3 separate regions of the Homo sapiens genome follow, and all the other regions are linked to region 3. Evidence: promoter capture Hi-C in 16 types of primary human blood cells and fetal thymus (Javierre and others, 2016). All regions are on one chromosome and are shown on one strand. The core of a region is centred on a gene start or on the middle of the fragment in contact, and the rest is flanking DNA. Distances in the headings are between cores, read along the strand shown.

What was found. Contacts are between HindIII fragments. The CHiCAGO score rates a contact against its expected background, and 5 or more counts as called.
Region 1: a contact is called between a fragment that was not itself captured here and the fragment with the promoter of DDIT4 in region 3, in 5 of 17 cell types (total CD4 T cells, naive CD8 T cells, total CD8 T cells and 2 more). The highest score is 8.7, in total CD4 T cells.
Region 2: a fragment that was not itself captured here is called in contact with the fragment with the promoter of DDIT4 in region 3 in 3 of 17 cell types (non-activated CD4 T cells, total CD4 T cells and total CD8 T cells); the score reaches 5.9 in non-activated CD4 T cells.

The regions. Positions count from the first base shown.
Region 1 is chr10:72,061,563-72,064,262 of GRCh38, forward strand. SPOCK2 (SPARC (osteonectin), cwcv and kazal like domains proteoglycan 2) reads right to left here. Exons shown (of 11, transcript NM_001244950.2): 9 at 2,616-2,678; 10 at 1,463-1,600; 11 at 1-1,343. The coding sequence ends at 1,198. Among named protein-coding and RNA genes, the nearest start is that of SPOCK2, 26 kb to the right of the region's middle. The HindIII fragment of the contact is 6,001 bases long and covers 1-2,700 here.
Region 2 is chr10:72,119,797-72,122,496 of GRCh38, forward strand. All of the region lies in intron 9 of ASCC1 (activating signal cointegrator 1 complex subunit 1), which reads right to left. Among named protein-coding and RNA genes, the nearest start is that of SPOCK2, 33 kb to the left of the region's middle. The HindIII fragment of the contact is 3,620 bases long and covers 1-2,700 here.
Region 3 is chr10:72,272,612-72,275,311 of GRCh38, forward strand. DDIT4 (DNA damage inducible transcript 4) reads left to right here and starts at 1,313. Exons shown (of 3, transcript NM_019058.4): 1 at 1,313-1,449; 2 at 1,546-1,810; 3 at 2,084-2,700. The coding sequence starts at 1,606. The coding sequence ends at 2,577. It overlaps DDIT4-AS1 (DDIT4 antisense RNA 1), which reads right to left and starts at 1,100. Exons shown (of 2, transcript NR_186445.1): 1 at 239-1,100. RefSeq lists enhancers at 1-333, 334-857, 1,568-1,687. The HindIII fragment of the contact is 3,971 bases long and covers 881-2,700 here.

The DNA.
Region 1 (2,700 bases), core at 159-2,658, 210 kb before region 3:
GTCTGGGCAGGACAGGAGTGTTAAGGGTCAGGGAGGAGGTGGGCACACACCCCCTTAGCCTAGACCCAGGCTCCTTGCCTGCTGCTCCTGGCCCTCAGGCGCCCTCAAGTGGATGAGGGGACCCCAGCAAGGGGGATGGAGGCAGGAGTTGCACCAAGGGGGAGCCAGGCAGAGGTCAACTGTGTAACCACCACCCAGTGTCCCCAAGAGAGCAGCCCAGATCATGGCTCCACCACGAGACCCAGAGAAAAGGGACAGGCTATTCCAGGGTCTAGGATTCAGAGCTGCCCCATCTCAACACCTAAAAGCTCCCCCAGGCTCTGCAGCCACAGCCTCCTCCTGCTGAGCCGACCCCCTCTCCTCACCCTGTTCTACCTGCACCACCTGGGCCACCTGGGACAGACCTCAGACAGCTTGGCGAGGCACCCTGTCCCTGGCCTCTCAGCTGCTGCCCTCCTCCTCTGCCGCCACCACCTTCATTCTCCGCCTTGGGTTAGGAGAGCTTCTCTAGTGTTTGGGGATCCGGCAAAGGGACAGGGCTTGCTGTGGCTGGGCGTCCTGGCCCGTCTCATCTGAGGCTGGTGGGGATGTCACACCACATCGGCCCAGTTTTGGGAGGACCTCAGCTGGTAGACAGCTCCCTGCCCCTCCCTCCCCTTTGCAATGGGGACAGGCTCGCAGGCCAGAGCTTGACCTCAGAAGCAAGAGGGAGAAGGGCAGACAGGGGTCGGTTGAGCCAGGGTAGAAACCAAGGGGAGCCAGGGTAGAAACCAAGGGGTCAGGGCTGGGCTGGAGGACACGGCTGGGGGATCTCATTTCATGGATTTTGACCTGTCAATTTGTATTTGTGTGTGAATGTATTTTAAAACCAACAACAAAAGGAAAGAAAACAGCTACAAGGAGGCCGAAGGGGCCTTTGGGTGACTCACTCTGCCAGGAGCAGTGTGGATCAAGGACACATTTGTCAGCGCATGCCACACACACACACACATACACACATGCATGCACACATGCACTCACACTGTCACCCGTCCCAGCCATCTGTGCCACACACATGCCATGCACACTCACACTCCCAGTCCCCCCAGGTGGAGCAGGGTCCTTCTGACTGCATTTCTGGATCCGTTCTCGAAGTTGCCTGCTGCTGCTCAGAGCTCTGCTGTTGAGTCCCCCCCGGCAGCCGGCTCCTGAGGGCGTCTACCAGATGTAGCCCCCGTCGTCAGCCTCGCCTGCCTCGCCCTCCTCCTCCTCGGCCTCCTCGCCTGCTTCCTCCGTCTCCTTCTCCTCCTCATCCTCCCAGCCGACACCGCTTCCAAAGTCCCCCGAGAAGCCCACGATGTCATCTGTGAGGGGATCAAGCCAACAGGGGGTGAGGGAGCTTCTGGCACGCACCCCCCAGCATCCCACGACAAGGGCCCCCAGGCCTGGGCCCCCAGCAGGCCCTGAGCTGCCCAGCCCGTACCGCAGTCGGGGCTCCCATGCGTGCGCGTGCCAGTCAGCTCCAGGCCCAGCTGGTCCACACACCAGCAGTCACCGCTGCTCTGGTCACACTGCATCTTCCGGTAGTAGCCATCCTCGTCGCAGCTCGGGATGAAGATGCCTGAATGAGACAGTGCCAGGCAGGGTCAGAGCAGGGGCCCAGGCTGTGGGCCCCTCAGAGAGGTGACCTCAGGTCCTCATGCATGAGCAGAAGTCTATACACCCCCAGAGCCCAGCCAGACCGGGTGCTGACCCCCCAACAGGCCCAGATGCTGAGAGCTGGACACCAGCCAGCAATTCTTTCGGCTCTACTCGCTGGAGATGAGGAAACCCGCTTCCTTGAACCACTGCTCAGGCCCCTGTGCTAGCTCCCAGCCGCCCCATCAGTTTCCCTGACTCCATGGCCCAAGTCTTCTAGGACAGCCAGTCTGACTTCACCAGGTTTGACACTCTCCATCCTCCCACAGTTCCGCCGGCCTGGCTGTCCCCTGCTAGGAAGGCCCAGCCTTCTCCTCCCAGCCACTCTGAGTCCGACCTGCCTCCGGGGCCCACTTGCTTTCCTGCAGGCTCCCCAGCTGAAGCTCCCAGGCGCCTGTGTACAGGTCACACTGCTAGTTCTGTCTTTTTAGTGTGTCCATTTGTGTGTTGTGTGTTTCCGGACTGGCCCGAGCTAAAGGGTTATGAGGCCAGGGAGTGCATCCTTCTTGCCATCCGCTCAGAGTTGGGCTGGGTCTATTGCTGTTGTATCTCTGGGGCCGGCCCCCAGGTGTTTATGGAGCATGTGAGTGAGTGTCACTCAGGGAGTGGCCTCACTAAAACATTAGTCACACCCTTGCTGAAGGAAACTGAACTCAGTGGAGGGTTCCAGGATCCTTCTGTATCCCAAACTCTAGCTCCAGCATGGATGGGCATAAAATTAGTGCCTAAAACACACTTTTCCCGGGGCAGATTGGGAGTCCCTGCCCCACCACAAGGATAGACACAGGAAGGGGGCAACCCTCTTCTGTCTTCCTAGGCCAGGGCCTCCTCTGGGCTCCATGTCTGCCATGAGGCCCAAGGCTGGAGGCCCTGGGTCTCAGACAAACCCAGGAAGCCGTCCCCACCTCCTCCTCTGAGAGCCTGGTCTGGCCCCTCACCTGGCTTCTTCTTGGCGGCCTCCTGGATCTGGATGCGCTCCAGCTCTGCCAGGCAGGGGGGCTCTGTGGGGAGAGAAGCAGCCTC
Region 2 (2,700 bases), core at 111-2,610, 150 kb before region 3:
CTGGAATTATCATACTGGGAACAACTATGATTAATATGCTAAGGACTCCAATGGATAAAGGAGACAACATGCAAGGACAGATGGATAATGCAGGCAGAGAGATGGAAATTCTAAGAAAGAATCAAAGAGAAATACTAGTGATTAAAAGCACTGTAACAGGCTGGGTGCAGTGGCTCACGCCTGTAATCCCAGCACTTTTGGAGGCCGAGGCAGGCGGATCACCTGAGGTCAGGAGTTTAAGACTGGCCTGGCCAACATGGTGAAATCCCATCTCTACAAAAATTAGCCAGATATGATGGCGGGTGCCTGTAATCCCAGATACTCGGGAGGCTGAGGCGAGAGAATTGACTGAACCCAGGAGGCGGAGGTTGCAGTGAGCCGAGACTGCACCACTGCACTCCAGCCTGGGCGACAGAGTGAGACTCCATCTCAAATAAATAAATAAGTAAATAAATAAATAATAAAAATACTGTAACAAAAATAAAGAATGCCTTTGATGGGCTCATTAGCAGACTGGACATGGCTGAGAAAGAATCTCTGAGCTTGAGGATATGACAACAGAAACTTCCCAAACTGAAAAGCAGAGAACAAAGACTGAAAAAACACAACAGAATATCCAAGAACTGTGGTACAACTACGAAAGATATAAGGTGCACACAATGCAAATACCAGGAGAAGAAAAAAAGGAATGGAAACAATATTTGAAGGAATAAAGACTGAGAATTTTCCTAAATTAATGTCAGATTCCAAACCACAGATCTAGGAAGCTCAGAGAGTACCAAGCAGAATAAAGACCAAAAAAAAAAAAAAAATTGTACCTAGGCATATCATAGTCACACTTCTGAAAACCAAAGATAAAGAAAAAATCGTGAAAGAAGCCGAAGGGAAAAAACAAATACTTTTCCTATATAGAAGCCAAGATAAGAATTACATTTGACTTTTCCTCAGAAACCATGCAATCAAAAAGAGAGTGGAGTGAAATACTGTTGAGAGAAAGAAACTCCATCAACCTGGAATTCTGAACCCTGTGAAATTATCCTTCAAAAAATGAGGGAGAAACAAGTATAAGCGATATGCTAAGAAAGAAGAGAAAAAGAAATTATATATAATGCTCAAATAAACCAAAAAAGGCAGAAAAAGTGTGGGAGGCAAAAATAGAAACAAAGAACAAGGGCAACAAATACAAAACAGTAACATATATAATAAACATTAATCCAACTATATTAATCAATAATCACTTTAAACATCAATGGTCTAAATACACCAATTAAGAGACAGAGAGTGTTAAATTAAAATAATAATAATAAAGCAGCCAAACAATATATTGTCTATAAGAGACCGACTTTTTATTTATTCATTTATTTTGCGACAGGGTCTTGCTCTGTCACACAGGCTGGAGTGCAATGGTGCAATCATAGCTCACTGTAGCCTCAACCTCCCAGGCACAAGCGATCCTCCCACCTCAGCCTCCAAAGTAGCTGGGACTACAGGCGTGCACCACCATGCCCAGCTAATTTTTTTAATTTTTTGTAGAGACAGGGTCCCACTGTGTTGCTTATGCTGGTCTTGAACTCCTGGCCTCAAGTGATCCTCCCACATGGGCCTCCCAAAGCGCTGGGACTACAGGCATGAGGCATTGTACCCAGCCAAGAGACTCACTTTAAATATAAAGACACACAGAGATTAAAAATAAAGGGATGTCCCAGCATAGATGGGTTCTTAAAAAAAAAAAAAAGAAAAGTAAATAAAGGGATGAAGAAAGATATACCATTCTAACACTAACTGAAAGAAAGTTGAGTAGCTATATTAATTTCAGATGGAGCAAACTTCAGAGCAAGGAAAGTTATTATGAATAAAGAGGAGCAATACATAATGATAAAAAGATCAACTGTCCAAGAAGACCTAACAATCCTTAACACATATGTGCCTAAAAACAGTGTCAAAATACATGAGGCAAAAGTTGACAGAAGCAAGAAGAAACAATGAACTCACTATTATAGTTGGAGACTTTAACTAACCCCATGTATCAGAAATGGACAGATCCAGAAGGCATAAAATCAGTGAGGATATAGTAGAACTCAACAGCACTACCAACTGACTGGATATAATTGACATCTATAGAATATTTTATCCAACAACAGCAGATTACATGTTCTTCTCAGGCTCACAGGAAACACTGACTAAAACAGATCACATTCTGGGCCATAAAATACGCTGTAATAAATTTAAAAGAATAGAATCATACAGTGTCTGCTCTCAGGCCACAATGAAATTAAACTTGAAAGTGATAACAAAGATAGCAGGAAAATCCCAAAATAGGTGGAAATTAAACCACACACTTCAGCCAGGCGCAGCGGCTCACGCCTGTAATCCCAACACTTTGGGATGCCAAGGTGGGCGGATCACAACATCAGGAGTTCAAGACCATCCTGGCCAACATGGTGAAACCCCATCTCTACTGAAAATACAAAAAGTAGCTGGGTGTGGTGGCACATGCTTGTAGTCCCAGCTACGTGGGAGGCTGAGGCATGAGAATTGCTTGAACCTGCAGGGGCGGAGGTTGCAGTGAGCCAAAATCGTGCCACTGCACTCCAGCCTGGGCAACAGAACCAGACGCAGTCTCAAAAAAAAAAAAAAAAACCCACACACTTCTAACCAACACACACTTCTAACCAACAAAAAGACCTTAGCTACCACACC
Region 3 (2,700 bases), core at 63-2,562:
GGGTGGGGATGGGGGTTGCGGAGGGCAGTGGCCTGACATCTCCTGCAAGTGTCATTTGTCACGCGAAAGCAAGCCTGACCCGAGGCAAGGCCCGCCTATCTGGTTAGGTTCCTTGCCCGCCCCCGGGGCCCTGGGCATCTGATGTAAGTTTGGCTCCCTCTTCCATCAGGGTCCTCCTGTCCCAGACTGATAAACCTTTAGAGCAATAAAGGTCGAGTCCGTCTCAACCTCCACCCACCCTCAGCAACCACTGTTAGCCTCTGAGCACTGCTGCCAGGCCAGATTTCCTGTGGCCCCGCCTGAATGATGAAACACGGGATGGCCATTGCACTCCCTGGCTTTTCCAGAGATCTCGGTCCTCGGTCCTGATGCAACCGTCTGGATCTTTTACACAAAGCGCTAGGCGAGCGCTGGGTGCTAGGACCCGGGGGGCGCCCGGGCAGGGAGGTCCGGCTGCGCTGCCTGCAGTCCGCGGGGAGGGCGGATGGGTCTGTGAGTCCGACTGCTGTGAATCCTCGCTTCCATCCCTGCACTGGGCGCTATGAACCCGGGCCCATCCACACTCCTCTAACCACTCTCCTCAAGCCCTCTCCTTGGGAGCAGTTGGAAGTGGAAGCAGATAGGGTTTGGGAGGAGGCAGGGATCCCCATTAACCTATGTCCTGGGCTGTAGAGTAACAGCCAGGATGGGCAGGTGGGGCCTTGGGGAAGGGGCAGCATGGTGCCCGGAGCTTCCCAGTCTGTGGACCCCACCCCCATATCCCGAGCCTTTGCAAAGCAGGGATAGAGGGGGTAAGGGCGCGAGGGCAGGCCGGGCTAACGTCTGCTCCTGCGCCGCCGTCCCACGGGCATCCCCCCCGTGTGTGCCCAGTTGTTCCCGAAGCTTTAGGATCCAAGACGCTGGGGGCAACCATTTTCCTTGCCCGCCGCCCCCTCACGCTTCCCTGCCTCTCCTCCTAGCCTGGTCACGGGCTGTCCCCTCCTCCAGCAATGCAACCCTATAATAAACAAGTCTTTCCTTGATCCTCCCCTGCCGCGAGCGCCCTCGGGGACCTTGGCAGCTGCAGCCGCCGCGGATCCTTTCCAGAAAGGGGGCGTGGCGGTGGGTCGGGGTTCGACTGCGAGCTTTCTGGGGCTCAATGGAGGCGGGGCCCGGCCGCTGTCACCGGGCAGGAGAGAACGTTGCTTACGTGCGCCCGGAGTCCATTGGCCAAGGCGGGCCACACTCCCGGGTCTGGATTGGGTCGTGGCGCAGAGAAGGCGTGGCCTCGCCGCGCTAGTCCTTATAGGCTGCTCCGCGCTGGTGCTAGGGCGCAGCAGGCCAAGGGGGAGGTGCGAGCGTGGACCTGGGACGGGTCTGGGCGGCTCTCGGTGGTTGGCACGGGTTCGCACACCCATTCAAGCGGCAGGACGCACTTGTCTTAGCAGTTCTCGCTGACCGCGCTAGCTGGTGAGTGTCCCTTCTGTGTGTGGGTCCTAGAGCTCGCGGTCTGGTCTGGTCTGGTCCCCAGACTGACGCCTGGTCGGTCCCCCTCTTGTCTTACAGCGGCTTCTACGCTCCGGCACTCTGAGTTCATCAGCAAACGCCCTGGCGTCTGTCCTCACCATGCCTAGCCTTTGGGACCGCTTCTCGTCGTCGTCCACCTCCTCTTCGCCCTCGTCCTTGCCCCGAACTCCCACCCCAGATCGGCCGCCGCGCTCAGCCTGGGGGTCGGCGACCCGGGAGGAGGGGTTTGACCGCTCCACGAGCCTGGAGAGCTCGGACTGCGAGTCCCTGGACAGCAGCAACAGTGGCTTCGGGCCGGAGGAAGGTGAGCGGTGGGCGGGTGCCGACGCGACTCGAGGGGCCGGGAAGGTGGGGAAGCCCCGGTGCTGGAAGGGGTCAGAGCCGCCTTGGCTTCCTATCCCATCGGGACCCAGATTGCTTGGGGGCAGGGGGAATTGGAGTATAAGGTGAGTGAGGCGGAAACTGAGGCACGGAGTGGGAAGGAGCGTTGGTTTCTTAAGGAAACAGCACCTCCCCCGCCTGTGCGTTTCGTTTTGAAGCCGCTCTAATACCCCTTCCTGTGTGCTCTCCTTTCCAGACACGGCTTACCTGGATGGGGTGTCGTTGCCCGACTTCGAGCTGCTCAGTGACCCTGAGGATGAACACTTGTGTGCCAACCTGATGCAGCTGCTGCAGGAGAGCCTGGCCCAGGCGCGGCTGGGCTCTCGACGCCCTGCGCGCCTGCTGATGCCTAGCCAGTTGGTAAGCCAGGTGGGCAAAGAACTACTGCGCCTGGCCTACAGCGAGCCGTGCGGCCTGCGGGGGGCGCTGCTGGACGTCTGCGTGGAGCAGGGCAAGAGCTGCCACAGCGTGGGCCAGCTGGCACTCGACCCCAGCCTGGTGCCCACCTTCCAGCTGACCCTCGTGCTGCGCCTGGACTCACGACTCTGGCCCAAGATCCAGGGGCTGTTTAGCTCCGCCAACTCTCCCTTCCTCCCTGGCTTCAGCCAGTCCCTGACGCTGAGCACTGGCTTCCGAGTCATCAAGAAGAAGCTGTACAGCTCGGAACAGCTGCTCATTGAGGAGTGTTGAACTTCAACCTGAGGGGGCCGACAGTGCCCTCCAAGACAGAGACGACTGAACTTTTGGGGTGGAGACTAGAGGCAGGAGCTGAGGGACTGATTCCTGTGGTTGGAAAACTGAGGCAGCCACCTA